Linked DNA regions of Homo sapiens: regions 1 and 2 are each linked to region 3. Evidence: promoter capture Hi-C in human tissues and cell types (Jung and others, 2019). All regions are on one chromosome and are shown on one strand. The core of a region is centred on a gene start or on the middle of the fragment in contact, and the rest is flanking DNA. Distances in the headings are between cores, read along the strand shown.

Region 1 (3,180 bases), core at 681-3,180, 210 kb before region 3:
TCTATTTACAGAAGCAGCCTCAATGCCCCAAACCACATCAGTTCACTGCAGTGGGGAGTTCACTCCAATTAGTATTTGACTTTTGACTAAAATTGCTTTCAGAAACAAACAAATTCTTTCCTTTTTAAGAGGATTCTGTTGCATAGGCCAGACAGAATCTCTACCCTTTCCCCACCTAATCATACCTACAGCCACCAGACCAACGACTAAGACTGGGCTAACTTGCTCATTGGAAAAGGAAACACTCTTTTGAGGGAAACTGCCTCCACTGGAGCAGGGAATGGCAGCTCACATTTACCACGCGCCTACCCTCTCCTATGCATTTTGCTCCAAGCTTCAATTTTCCCCATTCCATTTTATGCTCCAGATGTGAATGCTAGGTCCTCTTCTTCAAAAGGTAATTTGACTTCTTCACCTGAATTAAGGTTCAAAGACATCATTAAATCTAGAAATATGAAAATCATTATATTGTGCTAGCCTATCATTGATTTGTTTATGTTTCAATGTTTAGAGATTTGGTGGAATATAGCAAAGACAAAGACCAGGCCATTTTCTTCTTTTTTAACAACAACAAAAACTGTATGCTGATTTTAATGCTATTCAGAACATTGCTGTTGATAACCAGTGTGATAATGAAGACAACGATGAAGCTGCACACCTTTGCCTCTTCTTTTAAAAATTAACTTCTCTGTGGCTTTCTGATGTGCATTGCACTTACACTTAATCCATCCTTGGTATCCAAGATCAGAAATCAAAATGACCTTGATATTTTAGAGAAGGAGGCAGGCAGAAAGTGGGGTAGAACTGAATAAAAATATCAAAAGGGCACTTCCACTGTGCCCCTTGGCAGACATAGTCATTTCCTCCGGGAGCTCCTAATATATTTAACTCATATTTCCATTGGTGCCACACTGTGTTATAATTTTTGCTTACATATCTGACTTCCCAAAAAGCCTGGAAACTCTTAAGGTCATAACGAGCCTTATTCATCTTTTTATCACCAGGGATACAAGCTAAGCCGAAGTTAGGAAGTTAGTACATCCAGGCTTTAACAAGGTCAACAGAAGTATGGCATATAAAGAAGGCTAAGAGATATGTTTCATCAGAGTCAATGTTGGTTAAAATTTCAATTCTGGTAGAGTTTCTAGTTTAGAACCCAGGGCTTTAAACAAAACTTGGGAAACATGGAAGTAATATGGAAGAAAACAATTTAGCTGGTTAAAGATCTGGAGAAATAGGTGAGGCATCAGAACTCCTCAATTCATAAAAGAAAAGATGGCAGTGGAGTGGAAGTAACTAGAAAGGAATGAGACGGTGTTATGGGGTGACTTGAATACTGAAGTGCTCTCCACTTTGGCAGCTAATCCCCATATTCCCTAAGAATAGCCAAGAATGCCTGGCTCATGCCATGATAGCCAGGTGTCACAGCCGACAGCAGCAGACAGGCACATGGAAATGCAGAAATGCTAGGGATATGTGCTAAACAATTTTCTGTGACTGAGACTCTTTGTTCAGATCTGACTGAAATTAGGTGGTTAAAGGGCCCACCCTACCAGAATCTCCTCTCCCACATTTTTTCATAAATTCTAGGATGTTAGATAAATTAAGTCCTTAATAAAATGAGATCCTCTGGGCAGACTGCCGAGGCAGGGAAGCCCAGCCTCAGCCCGACAGAGACAACAAAAAAGGGCCCTGATTAGGTTTTCTTCTCATCTTCATCCAATCACCCTGATTCCTCTAACATAAAGAAAATAAATGAAAAGGCATCTAAGGGGAAATAAATCTGCAAAAAGCAAGACCCTCTTTACCTAAATATGTCTCAACTCTGTCAAGACCTACAAGTAGGAGGCAAGTTGAAAAATAACCCTGCCGATGACAGCCATGTCTGAAAGGTTGTTCCTCCTTAGGCTCAGGGTTAAGAGGAGCTGAGAAGTGGGGGAGAAGAACTAGAAAGAAAAATACCTTCACAGAAACCCAGGGCTCCAGATCTTTCTAATTTCCCTCATCTACTCAAGTTCACGGCCCACAGGGAAATTGGTGGGGCGGAAGGGAGCAGTGAGAGAGACGGAGACAACTTTAAAAGCAATTTGTTTTGTAATGGGTCAAAATCAAGTTCAAAGAGGAAAAAAAAAGTCATTTCCCTCCAACATACAGTACATCTATAGTCCAAACAGAGGCTGCTTTGTTAGAAGCTTCTAGAAATTCTGCAGACAGCAGAGGTTAACAGAGGTCAATGGAGTTAATTGTTTATAAGGTCCCCTTTGCTCTCTCTTAAAAACAAAAAGCATGTTATGTTTTTTCCTGATCCACGGAAGCGGCCCCTCTGTGCTGGCTCTCGTTCTGCTAAATGCTGTCAGTGGGGCCTACAGCAAGAGCCCGGCCACCAGCACACCTGTGGACCCTGTTTCACAGCCGGGGAGAACTGGGCAGGCCATCAGCAATGAGATCCAGCTGCGCTGCCTGATAGGCTAATGTCCCATATCATGTCCTTCCCTTTCATGTCTCTGGCTCGGGGCTTCCAATTTGACCAGATGTACTGAGAGCTAAAAGATCCAGGGGGCTGTTCTGAGCTAGTCTGAACAAACAGTGACATTCATTTTATACCACGGAAGCTTTACACTAGAAGGTCCTATGAAGTGTGAGAAGTCAATGTGGACATCCCTGCTGCTGCCAAGAAGTAAAGAACAGGCAGGACCCCTCACTATCCCGTTGGAAAGAGCTGCAACGTTCCAAATGGAAATGCCCCTGCTTCTTACCCGGGCACACTCCACTTTGGCACACTCTCCAGTCTGGCAGGTCACTTGGCCATGATCACACATGCAGAACTCACAGGCCGAGCCCTTCCACATTTCGTCCTGGTACCGCACAACTCCATCATAGGAGCAGCTCCCGGCAGGAGACACACATTCCTCACAGCATTGCCCATGACGCCGAGCCCTGCTCTGACCCTAGGACACAGAGAGGAAGGTGAGGGGCAGTCCTCAGGAGACGGTGAAACACCCAAGCCAACAGAGGCAGGAGGACCCAAAATACCAAAGCTCTACATGGCTCTTTCTCTGGCCCGACCCACGATGGGCAGGGTCCCTTGCACCTCAACCCTTCTTCCTAGGAAGCAGAGCCTTCATATCTTTATGTAACTTTGCAAACATTATAAAACTTTTGATTCCCCCAAAGGACACA
Region 2 (3,011 bases), core at 453-2,952, 150 kb before region 3:
AGATGATCTCTTCAGACTCACTTCTTTGATTTACCAGCCTCTCCCTTTCTTAAGCTCCTTTGACTTGGTTTTGGGGGTACATGCATAGTCCACATCTTCAGACAAGAGGCACTACTACCCTCAGGCCTACAGAAAGGGAAGACGATGCACAAAATGCAGCGAATGCAAGAGGAAGGAGGTCACAGTAGGTTCCACAGAGAAGGTAACATTTTAGATGAGACTTGAAGGACAAACAAGAATTTGCAAAGGTGACAATTTTCAAATTTTACATACTTTTTATAAGTATTACTTAGCCAGTATTCACTGCAAAATTATTCACAATGGCCAAAATGTGGAAACAACCCAAGTTTCTTCAACAGATGAAAGATGAATGAATGTGTATATATATACATACATATGCATCCAATGGAATATTAGTCATAAAAAGAAATGAAGTTCTGATACATGCTACAACACAGATGAACCTTGAAAACATACCAAATGAGATAAGCCAAACACAAAATGGCAGATCTTGTATGATTCCATTTCTAAAATATCTACAATAGGCAAACTTTGAGAGAGAGAAAGTAGATGAGGGGTTACCAGAGGCAGAGGGAGGGAGAGTGGAAAGTTACTGCTTAATGGTTACAGGGATTCTGTTTGGGATTATTTAAAAAATTGAGAAACATATAATGGTGATGGTTGCACAACACCATGAATGTGATTAATGCCACTGAATTACACAGTTAAAATGGCAAATTTTATGCTGTACATATATTACAACAATTTTTTTTAAAAGAGGGGATTACTTAATGTCAGAACTTTACTTGAGCTCAAGTCCAAGGAAAAATTTGATGAAGTGAAACAATTTCCCAAGCCCCTGGGCCCATGCTGGGTAGTCCAGGTGAAGAGCCCTTGGAAGGCAGCTAGAGGGTACAGGTGCTCAGACAAATGCTTGCCACAACATGGCTTTCCCCATGCCTTCTCCATGGATCTGTGTTAGCCCAATGAGCACATAAGTTCAAAGGCAGTATTTTAGTCATAGCCCCTTCTATTAGGGTGTCAGAATCAGCCTCCTGCCTCCCTGCTTTTTCAATGACAGTATATAAACTTTCACAAGTTGACTTCTTTTTAAAAATACATCGAAAGATGGCATTTCTCCATAAGGTAGATAGGTGCGCCTGTCTTCAGTGCATGGCTCAACAATACTTTTACACATTTAGACAGTGATGCAACCACCACCCAGGTTTCCATAGATAAACTTATCAACACCCAGAAGTTTCCTTCATGTCCTTTCCCTGTCTATAACCCACTCCCTTCTGAAATAACCCTTGCCCCGACATCTATAAATATTTATTAGTTATGTCATGCAATTACTTTCAAATGAAACTTCTCACTATAATTTAAGCACTTAGATATCCACACTGCCTTTCTTTGCCAACAATTACCATCCTTCCCTATGGGGAGGCCATGCTGTCCAACACCATACGCGCACCAGGAGGAGAATGCTCACACCTCAGTGAAGGGAAATGAAGCCTTGGTGGGTGCGGACATGGGGTGCCCATAAACTCCCCACATTGCACAACCAGGAAGAAAGTAGCTTACTGCTTCTTTGGAGGCACTGCCACCTAACAGGCCCTGTGATTTTATAACCTAACAACCATTGATTTCTGCCAGGAGCTCCAACACCTACAATTCCCCTGCTCTGTGATGATTGTATAGATATAGATAATTCACTTACCTTCTCTGTCTCAGATGCTGCCATACCAGGCAAACCTATTTTCCATAATTGTATCATCCTTCTCGTAGACAAGGGCAGGACAATGACACATGAGCCATCCCTATGGCCCCAACTTCTCAGGGCATGCAAGTATCCCTGAGATATGAAAAGCCTGGGGCAGAGGAAGGCAAAGCAAAAGCTGACACTCTGTGGAAGTCAAGAAAGCCCGAAAATATAACTGTCATTTATTACAAATCAGGGCACCTTCGTAAGAGATATGTGTCTACTCACTATGCACCAGACACTGTATTTGGTGCTGAGACTCCAAGTGATATAGACCTAGGCCTGATAGAGTCTGTTGGGAGAATGAACAGTACATTTAAACACAAAGCTTATCACAGTGGCTAATTTACATGCAAGGTGATTCATGCTATCACCAAGGTATGAGTGGCTTAGAATGAGAACACAGAGACCAGGGCCTTCAGCCCAGCTTTGGAGAAAAAGGCTTCTGGGAGGTGGTCCCAGATTAAGTCTTGGAAGCTATTAGATAGATTAAATAAAAGAGAGTTGTGAGGGCTAGGGAAGGGGGAAGGAGGGAGAAGCAGCTGTTCCAGGAAGAGGAAGTGCAGGAACACAGGTCCTGGGGTGTGAAGTGGAATAGCACAGTGTGCTGTGTGCTACCATCACATGAAGGATGAAGGGGACTAGCAAGAGATGAGGCAGGTAAGGAGCTCAGCAGAGGCTGGGTCAACAAGGATAAAGAGCTTAGGCAACTCTGCTATTTGAACCCCAGACAGGACACAGCCTGAGAACCGCAGGAACTCTGGCACAGGGAGCTAAAGAGCACAGAGTCAACGGGCTGTTCTGGCTTTGTCAGTTCATTTGAGAGGCAGGTCAACAGTAAAGAAGGTGAATGAAATTAGCCTCCTTGACGATTTACTTGGGATCAAATACTCCTTTTAATTAAGAGCAGTTATTTTCAAAGGTCAGTTTCAATATGATCCTGCTGCTATGACCCTTTCAATAATAGATAAGTTAGCCAGGGAGATCCTGACAGTTTAAGGATCTGCCCTCAGAACCACAGAACTGCACAAACCTCAGAGAAAAGGGCAGAAAATAGATGGCTCACTCCAACTGGGGACCCAAGGAAAGTATAAGATATAGACTATTGACAGAGGTGTGGGTAGGGTAAAGGAAGCCCCAGGCAAACAGAGATAGCCATTAGCACCACCAGGTCTGAACAGACATAAAGGAGAACAGTTCCAGAACCCAAAAGAGCTGTGGTCTTTTGGGGACAGAGGAAGCCACCCAA
Region 3 (3,042 bases), core at 359-2,858:
GGAGCAGGAGGGAGCTCACAGCGCCTCGCGTCCCCAGGCCCGGCATCCCATGACCCCAAACTCTTGATTTACTTATTGACTCATTTATTTGGCTGAGCCCGGATTGCATTTGATATCATGGCGACAACTAGTCTCACGGCTTCCTTTTCTCTCCTGCGGCTCCGGGGTTTTACAGGTAGCTTGGAGCCTCGGAGGAAAACCAGGAGGCGGAGGGTGAAGTAAAAGAATGAACCTAAACTCTTATTAACCACTTTTGTTCTGGGAAGCAGGCTGGTTCGTGCTTCTCCGTACTGGAGAGATTTCTTTCAGTGCAACTGAACTGCCCACGACCAGAACACGCTCCAACCAGTTAGTTATAAAATCCTAACTGGACTTTAGGGGGAGACTAACTGAGGTAAGGAGGGCGGGAGAGCGATGGGGCTTTAAGATGAAAGACTGTATGTTTCTTAGGAACAGAAGTATTTTTAAACAGGTAAGAGCAATTGTTCGCTCCTCACCTGTGCTCCATGCAGTTGCTTTCCCTTCGGGGAAAGGTAGGTGGTGGAAAGAAAAAGGATCAGTTTCAGAGATGTCACCTCCATCGGCCACCCACCCACCCAAAAGCACTTAGGGCAGAGAGGGAGGCCGTTTCGGGGGTGTAATCCGAATACAAAACAATCAGGAGTAGGAATCTTATCAGAAAAAGCCTATTCCAGTTTCACTTCCACCTCACCCTTCCCAGAAAAACTTCCACCTCACCGAAATACCATAAAACCTGCTGAGATTTTTAAACTGCACGATCACTCACACATACACACACACACGCACACGCACACACACACACACACGCGGCACCGCTCTCTCACCTTCGGAATGATGAGGCAATACTGCAAATTCCGCCAACGCTAGGGCCAGCCCGAGCCACACTTTGAGGACACCCATCGCCGCCTCGGCACCCACGATGGAGGAGCCCAGCCTTCAGCATCCAAGAAGCGGCTCCGCCAAAACGCTGGCTCCGGCGCTTGGAACCCGGGCGCACTGAAGGTGGGGGACCGCGGGCCTTTACCTCCGGGAAAAAGAGATGGACGGGCGGAGAGCGACACTCATCAGCCCGGAGGCGCCGGAGCGGGCTGGGGTTCAATTCACTCGCTGCTCAGGCAGAGAGCGCGCCGAGTTCCCCCGCAAGGCAGGACGCCAACGTGAGCTTTGGGAGAATAAGAGGAGGCAGAGCACAGTTCTCCGCGTCAAAATCTCGCCGGAAAGTTGCTGGTCACTGGCCGATGGGATCTTCCAGCATTTCCCTCGGGCTAGACCCTTCCGATCCCGGGTCCCCGACAGTGGAAATCCTGGCTCTGGTTTGTCCGAAGCAGCTTTTTAAAGTTCGCTTGGCACCATACGTCGGCGTTGCGTCGGCACCGCGGGTCGCCGGGAGCCCCGAAAGACCCACCCACACCCACTCCTTGGTCGAGCCACCCGGCTCGGCAGACCTCATCTGCCGGGGTCCGCTCGCTGGAAACTGTGCAGCGCTGAGGGCAGCTCCGGGGACTCGCCCGCCCTGCAGCCGCACCGCACCACACCGCCTCAGGCTGCGCTCCCTGAAGCAGACTGTTCGGAAGCTTCAGAGGAAAGACTGGGGGGCGCTGCTGCTACTTTCTCGTCCCCGCCCCTCGCCTGGGTGAGGAGGGCTGCGGGGACGCGGCTTGCTGCACACCAACACCCACCTCCGCGCTGAACACCCCGGAGGAGGTCTGCAGGGTAGAGGTGCAATGATTACGGGAGTGGAAGAAGAGCCATAATTTTAATTGCACGGAGGAAAAAGCTAGCGAGGCTGGAAAAGACCCCCAAACTCAAGGCCACTCTGGCGAGAGAGCCTGGAAACGCCCAAAATACGCCGGGTCTGGACCCCGTGTTTAAAGGACACACGTTCAGCCTTCCTCTAGTCTCCCTTGCCTCCTTCCTCTCTGCTTTGCTCGGTGTGAAAATGGACCCAGAGACTCGGAGCTTTGGCGAAATTCCAGAGAGTCACGTGGGGAAAGGGAGAAGCGAGGAGGGAGGTGAGGGGAGGCCGGGAGAGCAACCTGATCCCTTTATTCATTCTGCTGGAGTTCAGATTGGCTTTGTCTGGGGAGGAATCAAAAGTGCTCATACCGGGGACGGAGGGGGTGGAGATAGGTTGCACAGTTCTTGCTCAGGCACACCGGAAGGCAGATGAACCGTGTCCACATCCCTTGTTAGGGGAGGAACCGATTCGGCGGGCTGGGGGAGCGTGTGCCCACATCAAAGGCCCTGGGGCTACCTCCCACCCCCACAGCCCGCCACTCCTGCTGAACTAAGTGCGTCCGGGGGACCTGATTGATCCTTCTTCCTCGCTCTGGGACCCTCAGGCTGTTGCATCCTGGCTTTTACCAGCAGCCCGGGAAGATCTTGGTGTGTGTGTCCTAGGCGGAGCCTGAGAGCAAATGCACCTTTCCCTTTCCCTAGGAGACTCTGTCAGTGGAACACAACGCGGTCTGGGAGCTGTGGGTCCAGCTGCGCCCCCAGATGCCAATGGCTGGGAAAGTAACATCAGGACACGGCCGACTGGGGCGCGCACTTGAAGAGCAGAGGCCTTGATTCCCCGCCAGGACTGACTGACGGCAGCTATTTTTATAGGACCGAATAAAAATAGCTGGTCCACGTTTAATCGTTTTATAAGGGAACAGTTGCATCAGAGAGATGCTGACTGGGTTCTGATTGGCCCAGAGAAGAAACGTCTCGGGTCCCTCAATTGAGTCGGGATGGGCGAAACTGTTGGAGGGGAAGCAGTTGCATGAGCTGTGCTGGCGGGGGTCCCACTTGTTTCCAGTCTTCACGAACACCATGACGCGGGCCCACGTTCTAACGTGCACTGACGCCACTTGGAACAATTCACTTTTCCGAATAACTGGAATAACTTGAAACTGGCAGGTCCCTGTCAGTGTTACTATTCAGCCAGAACAAAGGAGAACCTCTGACAACCTGGCTCTGAATCTTAAGTATTTGGAGGACCCAGGGTTTGCACATTTCGCCCTCAGTCTCTCTGTT

What was found. The method cuts DNA at HindIII sites, captures the fragments that hold promoters and counts their contacts. A contact is called where the count stands out against the background at its distance.
Region 1: a contact is called between a fragment that was not itself captured here and the fragment with the promoter of FRAS1 in region 3, in 3 of the 25 tissues and cell types used here (mesendoderm cells, pancreas and thymus).
Region 2: a fragment that was not itself captured here is called in contact with the fragment with the promoter of FRAS1 in region 3 in 2 of the 25 tissues and cell types used here (H1 embryonic stem cells and mesendoderm cells).

What each region holds. Positions count from the first base shown.
Region 1 is chr4:78,267,009-78,270,188 of GRCh38, reverse strand. It overlaps FRAS1 (Fraser extracellular matrix complex subunit 1), which reads right to left. Exons shown (of 74, transcript NM_025074.7): 9 at 2,757-2,948. Among named protein-coding and RNA genes, the nearest start is that of SNORD161, 20 kb to the left of the region's middle. The HindIII fragment of the contact is 3,828 bases long and covers 17-3,180 here.
Region 2 is chr4:78,209,448-78,212,458 of GRCh38, reverse strand. All of the region lies in intron 2 of FRAS1 (Fraser extracellular matrix complex subunit 1), which reads right to left. Among named protein-coding and RNA genes, the nearest start is that of SNORD161, 78 kb to the left of the region's middle. The HindIII fragment of the contact is 8,399 bases long and covers 1-3,011 here.
Region 3 is chr4:78,055,889-78,058,930 of GRCh38, reverse strand. FRAS1 (Fraser extracellular matrix complex subunit 1) reads right to left here and starts at 1,608. Exons shown (of 74, transcript NM_025074.7): 1 at 846-1,608. The coding sequence starts at 921. RefSeq lists an enhancer at 2,051-3,022. The HindIII fragment of the contact is 7,312 bases long and covers 1-3,042 here.